2 separate regions of the Homo sapiens genome follow, and region 2 is linked to region 1. Evidence: promoter capture Hi-C in 16 types of primary human blood cells and fetal thymus (Javierre and others, 2016). All regions are on one chromosome and are shown on one strand. The core of a region is centred on a gene start or on the middle of the fragment in contact, and the rest is flanking DNA. Distances in the headings are between cores, read along the strand shown. Region 1 holds the start of KCNU1 (potassium calcium-activated channel subfamily U member 1). Region 2 has its middle 120 kb from the start of UNC5D.

Region 1 (7,389 bases), core at 1,605-4,104:
CTCTTGTGATGGTATCAGTCGAAAATCACTCCACCTTGTCCAAACCAGGGAACCCTGAAGTTGCTTATTCAATATTTCATAAAACGGATTTTACTGGGTTTGCATTTTCCTGGTTTTCTGCACAGCTTTTTTTCTACTGAATTCTGCAGTCTTCCTCCATGTCTTTCTCATGTATACCCGGTCCCAGACCCTTCAAACTGCCATCATTGCAATGATCAGAATTGGGAGCATCATGCCTCCTTCTGCTCTGGGTATAAGTGTAGCAGTTTTCATCAAGATACGTGGACAAAGAGAAAAAGATTACAAATTGATTTTTTAGCTGATTACTTAAGTGTCCGCATTTTGTGAGAGAAGGGGGAAGTTTTCAGCAATTTTGTGTTGCTCTTAGTTTTTTGCCTGGTGTTATATTCTGAAATTATAATCCTTCCTCACATTTATAGAATGTCTTTACTTATTATATTTAAATGTTACGGTAATCTCATATGATAAAGTTAGGCATGACTAAATACATTTTATATTGATGTGGATACCAAGGTATAGAGAAATTAAATGACTTTCCTAATATCAGGCAATGAGGAAAGGCTGGGGCCTGAGCTGGCATTCATTGTTTGTTGATAATAGTCTAGAACCACCACAAAGAAATACACAAACCAACTAGGACTACCCACACCAAGCTAGATGAGTCCCTCTGACTTTCAAAAAAGCTCATTTTATATGAAGCCAGGATTTCAAAATCACTTAATTTTTCTACTCATATTTTCTGAATGATAAAAAGGGAAGTCTCATTAAAAAACTCTTTGATAAAAGTTCACATCCTGATCAATGATTTGCCCTCTAATAAACATGACTCATGTCGGTTTCTAAATGTTGTCTGAGAATTAATTTTAAAAAATCCTAGGTATGACATTAATATAGAATACTCATTTGAATTCCATCATAAAATTGGAGCTACCTTCTGTGGAAAAACAAATTGGTCCTAAGATATAATAAACTCATATTTATAGATGTAATACATGTTTTAAATGCACATTTAAGGAGAGAAATTGTAACTCTCCAAATAATTTTTAAAATAACTCTTCACAGTACACCTAGATTTCTGATTTTTTTTTTTTTTTGCATTTGTCCAACTTCTCCAAAGGCTTAGAGAAAAACAGGTCACTCTTAATTTGATGTAATAAAACAAATCATTGAAAAGTAACTCAACTTGATCAAACTCTTTCCTCAAGATTCAAAAGCAGAATGGTACAGCATTCTGGTTGCTCAGGCTCACTTCTTAACATTTTGTAACATTTGCTAAATATTTGTAATTAAAGGGTATACCTGGATCGAAGTGTAGACATAAATTACACCCAAAGTAAGAAATGAAAAATATAGGAAATTGACAAATGTACTGTCACATTTTTGTAATCACACAAAATGAACATAATGGAGAAGAAGAACATTGCCTGGAGCAGAAGACTAAGAAGATTTAAAAATCCTACAAATTCAGTTGTGCATTAACAACAACAAAACAAGGTAGAAACAAGGAGGCAGATCCATCATAGCTATTTACCCATATGTCAGTATCCCAGAATTCTTTCTCCAATTATTGTGCCACAGCTTAAAATCCATAATGTAGAAATAATCAATAGAATAAACTTGTTTAGGAACAAAATCTATAAGCTTCAGTATTGGATAATTTTCAAATATGGAAAACAAAATTCCATATTACCAATAACTTTAAAAACTTATCAATTTATGAATTATATTTTATGTAGGTTTTAGCACTAAAAGAAATGTTTTAAGCAAATTTTCAATATTATGATGCACAGGTGAAATGTGTTGTGTTATGGAAATTGCTATAATCTATCAGAGAAAGAAAGTTTGGGAAGCAAAATTGGAAACAAACTACACAGGGTATAGTAAAACTCTTCACCTTTGACCTCTGGTAATAGAACATCCATTACACAGCATTTGAGAGCTTTATTTCAAGCTCTTAAGCAATGCCTTATCTGTATAATACATCATTTATTCTCATCATCATCATTTGCCAGCTGTTATTCAACAACATCAACTCCTGCTAAGCTTGTTTGGGTATAAGAAATGTCCTTGCATCTATGCCTGGATGGCACAGGCATGTATGCATGGGCTTCTCTGTGTATGTGCAACTCAATGTGTTGTCTTCATATGGTATACAAAAGGCAATGTACACGTCAGTACATATGCATTATGCATGAACAATTTATGAAAGCAAGGTTGATGTTGATGTCTTGTTCCCTTTCACCTCCTTTCTATGACCTAGCACAATTGTCTTGTTAAAATTCGAGATAGAGGCATGGACATAATGTTTATGAACTTTTTTTCAGAACAGTGACCTCTGTTTCCAGAGCTAACATTAATCATTATCCATACAAGACATTGCTTTTTCCAGTGATGGGAGAGAGAAGAGGCTTGGCCCTGTCTCTTCAGGCCTCAGAATGTGGCCTGAGGTCTGGCTTACCACCCTTTCTGAGGCACCAGGCTATAGAAGCTGACTCTGTTAGCTTGAAAAACTGAATGAAGCTTAGATCTTTTACTAAACACAAAACTACCCCAAACTCATCTCTGACTTCACACAGAGGGATCCCTAACAAGGAAACTGACCAAGATAATTCCTGTTCCCTTGATGATTTGCCATTTTTTAACAGATCTCCAGATCAGCCTGAAGATCAACAGGATGATGAGTCCACTGAAGAAGGTCACAAAGGAAGAGAGAATGAATGCTGCTTGGATCTCAGTTGTGCAGGACATTTTTGGCAAGTCTTCCCAAGTTTCATTTCGTAGCTTAGTCTGAAACATGTTCGAGACATCAGTAGACGGAATTGCCAGGTCATTTGATGACGCCGTGGTCGCCTGGTAACAATTCCAGGAATCAGAGTTCACTGTACCACAGTGTTCCAACATTAGGCGTGATAACCAGTGAGAAGTTCCAGGAACAAGGGTCTGCCAATCCCCCGGTGCCAGCTCATGGGTTGTGAATGAATACACAACTGGAGATGGCTGGGGCCTACAATATGAATAGTCAAAAAAATCATAATTCTAGATCGGATTGTTACGACTTTCTCTATGCCTTGAAGAAATCCCATTATCTGTAGCAATGATCAGCTGGTTATCAGTTCAGTTAATGCAGTCAAATAATTTCAAATCAACTCTTTCGGAGTGAAACAACAGCCAACTATGTGTGTGAATGAGTTGGTTCTCTATCTGGGAGGATGCCACGTGCTTAGTAGGCTTGGAAGGACAGAAGAGAGAAGTACTTTAAAGTTTTTGTTTATCCTTTATACAAAGGAGCAGATATGCAGAATGAATAAGTCTAGAAGATCTAGTGTGCAGAACAAAGAACATAATTAATAAAATTATTTGTATTCAGGATTTTTGCTAAAAGAGTAGATTTTAAGGGCTCTTGTTACACGCACACAAAAGATGATTAACTCTGTGAGATGATAGATATATGAATTTGCTTGACTGTAGTCACTGCTTCACTATGCATAAGTTTATCAAAAGAGCATTTTGCGTTTGTACTTGTATGCGGAAGCTAAAACAGTGGATCTCATAAAGATAGAGAGTAGATTCATGGTTACGAGATGCCGGGAAGGGTGGCTGAGGAAAGAAGTTGGATAAAGAGAAGTTGATTAATGGGTACAAATATTTGGTTTGATAGAAGAAATAACATCTAATGTTCTATAGATCAGTGAAGTGACTATAGCTTATGATAATCTATTGTACATTTAAAAATAGCTAGAAGAGAAAAATTTGAATGTTTCTAGCACAAAGAAAATACAAATATGTAAGTTGATTGATATCCCAAGTACACAAATTATGTGAATGTATTAAATTATCACGTGACTTGAAAATATGTGTATCTGCTGTGCATCAATCCAAAGAATATCACGTTGTACTCCTTAATTACACACAATGAAAATCAAGATTATCTTGAAACAGAAAAAAAAAGGTTTTGTTTATTCTTTACATAAGAAAGGCATAGTATAGAGTGCAGGTATTGAAGAAGACAATTTAACTAGTGTGGTCATTGGTTGATTGTTATTTCAGCCCATAAATCCATTCCACTTATCTCTTCTTTATGGAACTCTCCCCTTTCTTGCTTTTATTACTGCCCTGGCAGCAAACCTTTTGGCCCAGCAGAGGTAAAGTTCAGAATGAGAGAAATTTCTTTGATTTTCCCTGATGTTTTCAAAGGTGTAAGAAATGTCATGCCTTTCAGTGTGCACAAGTGGCAGGCAAAATGTCAGAGCCCAGTGGAGGGCCTAGTTCACCCCAGTTATTACCAAGATAACCTGACACCAGGTGAAGAGGCCCAAGAGGAATCATCACGCTGTCCTTGGGAGCCCGCCATGACTCCACACTGTTTGGCAGGCTGTTTCAGAAGATAACTGTAGCATTTCCTAGGACTGCTGCCACAGTTACATTTCCTGCTTTTAAGCTTACCTATCATTTCTACAAAATCCTGTCATTGAGCTAGCTAATAACAAAGGGCGATGTTTAAAAGAACACTGGTCTAGGAGTTAGGAGCCCTGCGTTCCAGCCCAGTCCTTCTATTAAGTTACTGTGTGATTTCTAACAAGTCATTTTAATGTTCGTAGTCTTTTGATTTTATGTGGAAGATAATACCTACTTGATAGAATTATTGTGGGGATTCAAGAAGGTAGTGTGAACATATTTTGAAAAGCATAAAACTCAATATAAGATGCCATTAGCCATTTCAGTTCCTTTTTTGAATGGCATTAATTATAAAGACAGGAGGAGGAAGAAGTAAAGGAAAGGAGGGAGAGAAAGAAGGAAGGAGGGAGGCAGGGAGGGAGGTAGGGAGGGAGGTAGGGAGGGAGGAAGGAAGGAAGGAAGGAATGAACGGAGGGAGGGAGGGAGGAAGGAATGAGGGAAGGGAGGGAGGAAGGAAGGAAGGGAAGGAGGGAGGGAGAAATCACTTGTTTATCTCTTTCACATATGTGTGTGTGCGCACGCACACACACACACACGCGCGCACACACACACACACACACACTTACAGCTATGTGGACAAGATCAGACTTTCCAAGCCAAAATTCATCCACATCCTTTACTTAGTATTCTCCCTTTTATCTATCATTATCACTTTAATTTTCTTATTTTCTTCCCTTTTACTATTTACTGTTTGTTAGGATGGAGAAAAGAAACAGAGACAAGGGGAGGTCGCTCAACAGCAACACAGGTTTATTGGACAAAGACTTGCAGAAGGGGAACACCAGACAGCGCTGGAGCCCAAGCCCCGCTTACAGACTGGAGCAGTTGTAGGTCCCGACAGGAGAGGTGGGGCAGTATGGGTCGCTGCAGGGCAGGATGTGATAAAGGAAGAATTTCCTGCAGTCAGACGGTTAGGCCTGGGACCTGCCAGGATGTTTCTCATGGCCCGAGCCCCTCCAGGGGAATTTTCCACCCTAACCAGGGTGTGCAAAATGGCAGGGGTTTACAGGATGGCGCTGCTTGGGCTAACACTATTTTCAAAGTATTTCGATTCTGCTGTATTATGATGCATCCTGGGCACCTCTTCCCTTTTTGCAGATATTGCTTTATGAACACAAAAAGGATTCCATTCAATTCGAACAGGCAGGTAGTTTGTCCCTCTAATATGCTGTTATCACGATAATAATATTACTGTCTGCAAATGAGTAGAAAAATGTGCAGGTGGTTTCAAAATCAGTCTCTTCAAACCCATCTTGAACCTACAGTGACGAACAGTCCCTGTTCAGAACTGTCCCAGGTTCAAAACTGAAAGTCCAGTGACTGGAGAAACCGCCTAGTCCTGGCAAACCACAGAGACTGGTCACCTCCCATCCCACGACACATCATCTATGCTGCGCTCCAATCATACTGCCTCCTCTTAGCTATGAGGACATGCAAACCTTTTCCTGGTCCAGGCCCTTATAGCACAATGCCTCTGTTCCCTCTGCCCAGAGCACTCACTTCAATAGTGGCTGCTATTTTGTTGTCCTTCAGTTCTCCCTTGGTCTCTCTTACGGCTTTCTGACCCTTTCTTTTATAGCACTTCATGGTACTCAAGATTTGTTGTTATGTGATTTACTTGTTGCCTGGTTTATTTTCTATCTCCTTTCACAAGACTATAAGCTCCACAAGCACGGGATATCATTTCCGCTTTACTCATCACCGATTACTCTGTGTCTAGTATTGTACCTGGCACATACCTGGGAATGTGTAGACTTCGTAAATATTTGGCGATTGAATGAATACATTGCTGATCCTCAAAAATATTTGTTAGGTGAATGAAATACTGAATCTGCATGAACCTTAACCTAAGTTATCCAGATTTCTCTGCTCCATATTCTCCATCTTTGACGGCAAACTGTTCTTGTGATGAAAGCATCATCCATAGTGTGTAATGCATGGTTCATAGTGTGTGTGCATGTGTGTAAGTGTGTGTGTGTGTGTGTGTGTGTGTGTGTGTGTAGTGAAAAGGGCACCTGATTTGGATCAAGTGTCAAAGTGTCACCATCTTTGCAAATTTAAATTTGGTAATTATGGCCAGATGCGGTGGCTCACGTCTGTAATCCCAGCACTTTGGGAGGCCGAGGCAGGCAGATCACCTGAGGTCAGGAGTTTGAGACCAGCCTGGCCAACATGGTGAAACCCCCCTCCCTAATAAAAATACAAAAAAATTAGCCAGGTGGGGTGGTGGGTGCCTGTAATCCCAGCTACTCGGGAGGCTGAGGCAGGAGAAGCGCTTGAACCCGGGAGGTGGAGGTTGCAGTGAGCCGAGATCATGCCGCTGCACTCCAGCCTGGGTGACAGAGTGAGACTCCGTCTTAAAAAAAAAATGGTAATTATTCTCGGTTAGTGAGTTATTTGGTGATGGGTGGACATGTGACTAGGCAAAGCCCTTCGTAGCTTGGTAGCAGTTCAGTGTTCAGAACTTGGAAGGTAGGGAACTTTGAAGCAATGATACCCTTCACAGTAATTAAGATAGTACTCTCCTTGTACTTGATGGTTTGATAAGGATAAAAAACAGTAACTATTTTTTTGACTACCAGCTGCAAGCTAGAATCTTCGTCGTGTGTGTGTGTGTGTGTATGTATGTGTTTAACAATTACCTTATACCAAGGACTGGGAGCACCAGGGACACCAAAACAAATCTAGTTCATTCCCTCATAGAAGAGAGTCAACTGAGGAAGACATTTACAATAACAAACTGCAAAAAGTGTTTAGAAAATAAACTAATCTGGTGAGGATCGAGGGGGTCAGGAAAGCTACCTCAAATACGTCATGTTTGAAGCTGAGGTCTGTAGAATGAGAAGCTTCCCAGGCCAGGACAACAGAAGGGGTTAAGGAGGCTGGGGTAGAACATGATCAGGCTGAGAAGAT
Region 2 (7,389 bases), core at 1,567-4,066, 1.7 Mb after region 1:
AGAACACTAGCTCACCACCTTCTTGGTTTGCTAACTTTCCTATTAAACTTGAGTTTCCTCCTACCAACCCTTGTTTCTCATGTTTGGCTTTTGAGTGGTGAGTAGCTGAAATTGGTTCTGGTTACAACTGGAGTTGAGTTATTATCTTTTGAAAGTTGTCTGTCTTTGTAGGTTCTTGCTTTCCTGGTCCTTTGATTAAAGGCAGTGCAGGCTCTTTTGGGCTCTTTTTCTCTGCACTTGTTAGTGTTTCTTGGTTGCTAGCTACTTCATTTCTAAGTGAAGGATATAAGCAGCAAAAAAGACGACTCAGGGAAGTCACTACCGTGCTGTTCCTTATGTGCTGAGGGCTTTAGCACATTTTCTTCTTCTCTCCGTCTTTCAGAATTTTCTTTTATTTATTTTATATATAACATCCACAGTTCTTAGTTATAAATAGTGGTAAAAATAGAGAGAAAACGCTTCATCTTCTCAGAAATGTTATCTTCTATACTGATTCTTAATATGTTTGGATTTATGTCTTCCATCTTATTTGTGCTTTTTTTTTTTTAACCTGCTTTTTGGTGCTCCATGTTTCCCCTTTTCTCTATCCTTTAGCGTTTTCTTCTTTTTCTTACTTACTGTCACTGATTTAGTGTTATATATTCTCTCCGTAATAATTTAGTAAATATTGTTATTTCTGTTGGTTTAGTAACCCTTAAGTTTTTAACATGTATGCTTGACTTTTCAGATTAAACAATTTATATTGTTCCCTCTTCCAGAAAGACACAAAGATCTTAGAGTTTTAAAACAATTTTTAATAGCTCTCTCTTTCACTTAGAATAGATTATTTCCTTATGTGTTTTATAATTTTGGTTTATGAAATGATTTGTTGTTGAGATTGTCAAGGCTGTTTAGGTGGCTTCATTAGAGATGCTTGTGAGGTTTTGTATTTTATACTAAGCTTCCCAGAGTTGTCATTGGTCAAGCAGTATTTTTCATTAGCTTGGAAATAGGTGTTCTTGAGCCATTCAGGTATAAAAAATTTAAATCCCCAATGCATTTTTTATAAATTCTTAGTGAGGGGTGCTTTTTTCAACATACAAGCCAAGCCAAAATAAAATAAACAAACCATAGAAGACCACAAACACAAGTGAATATAAAACCAACCAAACTTCAGTGACTCTTCCTATTGTTGTGCCTGTTTTGTTTCCCTAGTATACCCACTTGCTAAGTCTATAGGTCTACAAAGGTTCATATTTTATATGGCAATTTCAGTTTTACTTCTCAACCTTGAAAGGGTCAAGACTTGTCTCTCACCTTTTCATGCGTGTTCATATCCTTGTTCCCAAACAGCTTCAGAACTTGACATCTCCTCATGCTACTTAGGGTAGTGAGTTACCTATTGCTGGAGATGTTCAAGCGTTGGTATAAGGGGTATGTCATTAGAATGTGTGATTCCTCAAGATGCCTTTAACTCTCGGATTATCAGATTCTGCAATAGTATTACCTAGCATTTCATTTCCATTGTCCTGTTTATGTGATATCATTATTCGTAAACATGGAGTATGGGTGGTCAGACGCCATACTAGGTGTTTGATGACACAGCACATAACATGATTTGGGTACAGAGCAAAGGACACAGTGATGAAGTATTACATGCCCATAAGAAGTAGAATATGGAAAATGATCACATCTTTTCATTGGAGATTATTATAAAAAATACTTTCAAGTCTTGGGCAAATAACTGACCCTGTTCTTTTAGAGATGATGATAAATATAGATGTTCTGTTCCTATCATTGATGATCCAATAAATAGAATCCCTAGACACTTTCAAAAGTACTGTGTGACAAACAGGATGTTATAGGCCACTGTGCCTTCTAGTGATGTGTGGAAAATTTGATAAAATGCACCAAATGTTCTGAAGACTAAAAGTACCATGTACCATAACTGATGAGTGATGATCCTAATGCTATGGAATGGCCACAGGAACAAGCTGCTTCCTCCTTTCGAACACAGTAATATTACTATTTCTTTATAAAAGACTTTAAGTTGCCTCATACAAACCTGGTTCTCATAAGGCTGAAGATTTTCTAGACTCAGTGCACCATCCACAGAGTATTTAGTCCACTCCCTTCCTCTTTTAAGTTAAAGGAAGCATGTTTTCTTTGTAAGCTGTGCCAGGAAAATGTCTCATCTCATACGGATATTATTTTAGCATATTAGGAAACCTAACTTCGTCCTTTGCTCACCTTCAGATTTATGGGTGTTGGTTAACTACTTTCATGAAAGAACAACATAGGCACAAAATGAGATGGAATAGAATAATCAACATTTTAATGTTACATTTGCCAGTGATCCTACTGGTTAAATGACCATTTATTTTGTCTGTGTGGTGTTTGAAGGGTTATACAAGTAGGAGTTAATTTGGTTGATCTAGTAATGTATTGTGCCTATGTATGTAAATGCTTTTCTGTTCTGCTTGAAAATGTAAGCAGTTGGCCATTCAGTGTGACTCATCAGGCTTTTAAAATTCGGGGTGAGAAGCATTAGTAAAATTGCTGTGAAAAATGATTCAGCTTGCACAGCTGGATCACCTTCCAAAATGCTATTCTCAAGTACATTTGTTCAGTAGGAGACTGTTGTGATCTGGTGCCTAACTTATCTCCCTCCTCCTTGGATTTACAGACCCAAGGCAATACTCACTTCCCTTGGAAAAATCCTGTGTTATGCTGGGTAAAGAGCAGATCAGAGGAGATGCTGCAGATGTTCACAGCTAACAATGTCAATGCCTAATTGGCTTTAAAAATTCCAGAAGAGAGGAAGAATGCCATTAAAAATAAATTTCGGCTGGGCATGATAGCTCATGCCTACAATCCCAGCACTTTGGAAAGCCAAGGATCACTTGAGTCCAGGAATTCAAGACTAACCTGGGCAACATAGCGAGACCTCCATCTCTACAAAATATATGAGAAAATTAGCCAGGCATGGTGAGTCACACCTGTAGTCCCAGCTACTCAGGAGGCTATGGTGAGAGGATCACTTGAACTTGTGAGGTCAAGGCTGCAGTAAGTTGTGATCACACCACTGCACTCCAGCCTGAGTGAAAGAGCGAGACCTTGTCTCAAGAAAATAAAAATAAGTGCAAAAATAATAAATTTCATGTATTATAATAAAGTATGATCCACAAATTTAGCAAACCTACAAAAAATATAAAATATTTTCTTTGATTATAGATCTTCTTTACACAAGATCAGGGGTACTATAAAAAATTAGCTCTACCTCTTAATCTAAACAAGTTTCTTTCTCTTGATGCTCACTAGCTCACTTTGGTTTACTGCTCCAGTTGGTAATTTTCCAGAAAGACAGAAAACACCCACTTTTATTTTTTTAACAGGGTCTCGCTCTGTTGCCCAGGTTGGAGTGCAGTGGCATGATCTCGGCTCACTGCAACCTCTGCTTCCTGGGTTTAAGTGATTCTCCTGCCTCAGTATCCCCAAGTAGCTGGGACTACAGGATGCACCATCATGCCTGGCTGATTTTTGTATTTTTCGTAGAGATGGGATTTCACCATTTTGGCCAAGCTGGTCTCAAACTCCTGACCTCAAATGATCCACCCACCTCGACCTACCAAAGTGCTGGATTACATAGGCGTGAGCCACCGCAGCTGCCAACACCCATTTTTTTTTTTTAAGTCTAATTTTTGGATCTGAATGCATCTTCAAATAGGAAACACTGTTAGGCCAAATGGCCACATTTAAGCTCCATTCCGAGTCCCTAAAATGAAAAAGATAAAATATTTTAGAAGTACATATTGGAGGCTACATGAATTTTTTTCTGCTGCCTCATCTCAAAATAGTTCCATGTGTTGGCAAGTCCAGAGAAGAGAAACTGAAGTGTGCTCAGTTCAATCTCACATCCAGAAAATACTGAATTATGTTTGCAGACTCTAAGTTTTCTATTTTCTGGGAGACTTGTACAGAAAATGATTTAATGTTGTGTTTGAATATAGCCAAATAACACCATGGCATTTAATAATTGTTCATAAAAACAAACTTTATTGCACATTTAGGATCACTAAATTGACCAAATTCTCCATCCTTTAAGATGAGAGATTTTCAGAGCTTGATGTGAATGAACAAAACCTGTTGCCTTATAAGTTGAATCTTCACCACATTTCACATTGCCCTTCCCTAACTTTTACTGGGCCCTAAGAAAATACATAAATATAAAGAGAAGATTTAGAAAAAGTGAGAAAAAGATTTGGAGAAAAGGAGATAAAAAGTTGACAAGAAGAAAGAGAGACTGAACGCAGAAATGGGTAACAACCAGGTCCTGTAAAAAAATGACCTGAAGCAACCTGATCAGGAAATGAAACCTCCTTATCTTCAGTCAACGGCCCAACAAGCCAGCATGCTGTAAGTCAGATTTACAGGAAGCCAGATTGCTCTCTCTAGTAACAATCCAGGAAGCTGCACAGTAACTTCTGTAACAATTGACCCACGATGGCCAGGGCTTGATTAATAACTGACAGTTTTCCTACTTCTTGTCTCTACTTCCAACCTAGGGCCAACCAGAGAAAGCCAAATATGCACCCTTAACCAATGAAATAGGATGCCCTGTTTCTGATAAGCCCACCCACAGCTCTCCCATGCCAATAGCCTCCAATCAGCGCACATCTGAAGCCTACCTATCCTCACCCATCATGAAGCTTCACCACTGCTTCGTCTACTTTGAGTCGCTGCTTAAACACAAGTGACGGTGGTTGACTCCTTTGGCATAGCAAGCTCTGAAAAAAATAGACTTTGCTTTTCTCATTGGGACTTCATTTATTCCTGTGGGAGAAAAAGAGAAATTAAAAGAAAAAGCAGGCTTATAAAACAATAAAAAATGAAATTAGCATGTCTTGTCATTCCTCATATCATGATTGCCACAGACACACACTCAACCTCTCAGAAATGAGGGTTTGTAGTGAGATTACGAAGTTCAGTTTCCTTTTGTTATATCCTCTACCTAAGCTTCCTAATAATTTATATAATGAAATCTTCAGAATTCATCATTTTTTGGGGCAGGGGAGACAGGGTCCCACTGTGTTGCCCAGGTTGAAGTGCAGTGGTGCAATAGTAGCTCACTGCAGCCTACCTCCTAGGCTCAAGTGATCCTACTGCCTCAGCTCCAGAACAGCTGTGACTACAGGTACATGCCATCACATGTGGCTAATTCTTAAATGTTTTTGTAGAGTTGGGGTTTCACTATATTGCCCAGGCTAGTCTCAAACTCCTGGGCTCAAACAATCCTCCAGCCTTGGCCTCCCAAAGTGCTGGGATTACAGAAATAAGCCATCATGCCCAGCCTCATCATTCTTTTCTAAATGAATGTTTACTCAGTATCTGCACAATGCTAGGATCTAGGGCTATGATGATATGGACCCTGCCCTGAAGAAGCTTAGATTCCAATGGAGAGACCAACATTTAAATCAACAGTAAGTTGGCCAAGCATGGTGGCATGCACATGTGGTCCCAACTATTCTGGAGGCTGAGGCAGGAGGATTGTTTGAGCCCAGGAGGTCGGCTGCAGTGAGCTATAATGGAAGAAAATATTTGCAAACTATGCATTCAGCAAAGGACTAATATCTAGAATCCATAAAAACTTAATTCAACAAAGAAAAAACAACCCCATTAAAATGTGGGCAAATGACATGAACAGATATTTCTCAAAAGAAGACATGCCAGTGGCCAACAAACATACGAAAAAATGTTCGGCATCACTAATCATCAGAGACATGCAAATCAAAGCCACAATGACACACCATCTCACATCAGTCAAAATGGCTATTATTAAGTGAAAATAAAAAAGAAAAAATCAACAGATGCTGGCTAGGCTTAGGAGAAAAGGGAAAACTTATACACTGTTGGTGGGAATTTAAATTAGTTCAGTCGTTGTGGAAAGCAGCGTGGAGACTTCTCAAAGAACTTAAAATAGAACTACCATTCAACCCAGCAATCCCATTACTGAGTATGTATCTGAAATAAAGTAGATCATTCTACCAAAAAGACACATTCACTCGTATGTTTATTGAAGCACTATTTATCTCAGCAAAAACACGGAATCAATCCCGGTGCTTATACACATGGATTGGATAAACAAAATGTGGTACATGTATACCATGGAGCTGCAGCTATAAAAAAAAGAATGGACTAATGTTCTTTGCAGCAACATGGATGCAGTGAAAGGCTATTATCCTAAGCAAATAAAAGCAGGAAAAACAAAACGAAATACTGCTTATAAGCAGTATTCTCACTTATAAGTGGAAGTGGGTCCTCATGGACATAAAGATGGGAGCAATAGACACTGAGGGCTACTAGAGGGCAGAGGGAGCGGGGCAAGGGATGAAAAACTAACTATTGGATACTATGTTCACTTTCTGTGTGCTGGGATCCTTCATATCCCAAACCTCAGCCTCATGTGGTACACCCATGTAACAAACCTGCACATGTACCCCTTGAATGTAAAATAAAAGTTGAAATTATAAAAACAGACAAAGAACAGAGTTTCCTACAACCTGTCTGGAGTCTCAGTGCAAGTTTTCATGCAACAAGTGGAAGCTGTTCTGTGGTGGGCTCAAGCAGTCACCAGACCATTGGCAGTTGCTACAGAGCCTTACAAAGATAGTTCCTTTTGAGTTCCCTCCTACTCATCAGACCTTTGCCTTCCCTCTAATGGTGACTTGGAATATCACGCATAGGCCTGTGCTTCCTCTACCTATAGCTCCAGTTACAAATTCTCACTGGATAATCCCCTGCCTTTTAAGACAAATAATAAACTTGGAGGAAACAAATCAGAGCTCTTGATAACCCCACAAGCCTGCCCCATCCTCTGCTTTTTCTATTTTCCTGTTTCATAGGCAATGAAATCTAAGGTCTGAGAGGTTAGTAAACAAGTCCAAATTAGCTCTGCTGGTCATGGACCTAGTATTGGGAAAGGCAGGGTATGAATCAAAGCTGTTCCAAGGCTAGATTCTTAACCAGTGATCTACTACCCTTTTTTCACTTTAAATTATATTAATTTGATTTTCTAAATAACTATATGAAGCAATTTTTTTTTCAGAATATTTTTAATCTGAGAAAGATGGAGTGAGTTGCCCAGTGTCACAAGGCTATTAATTTGTGGATCTGGAATTTGGGTTTGGGGTTGCCTGTATCTTGCTTGCATGAAGGTTATTTATTTGAGATTCCCTCTCTCCCAGAGTTACAAGTTCCTTGACGGTGATATCAATACTTCATTCAATTAATATTTCTTCAGTCCTAGCATAATTTTTATGCATAGTAGATGTTCAATAAATATTTATTTTTAAAATACCTATTTTTGTCCTTGCAATAGTTTGCTGAGAATGGTGGTTTCCAGCTTCATCC

What was found. Contacts are between HindIII fragments. The CHiCAGO score rates a contact against its expected background, and 5 or more counts as called.
Region 2: a fragment that was not itself captured here is called in contact with the fragment with the promoter of KCNU1 in region 1 in 1 of 17 cell types (M2 macrophages); the score reaches 7.9 in M2 macrophages.

Annotation. Positions count from the first base shown.
Region 1 is chr8:36,779,839-36,787,227 of GRCh38, reverse strand. KCNU1 (potassium calcium-activated channel subfamily U member 1) reads right to left here and starts at 2,854. Exons shown (of 27, transcript NM_001031836.3): 1 at 2,623-2,854. The coding sequence starts at 2,817. The HindIII fragment of the contact is 1,918 bases long and covers 2,544-4,461 here.
Region 2 is chr8:35,115,558-35,122,946 of GRCh38, reverse strand. No RefSeq gene overlaps it. Among named protein-coding and RNA genes, the nearest start is that of UNC5D, 120 kb to the left of the region's middle. The HindIII fragment of the contact is 3,748 bases long and covers 943-4,690 here.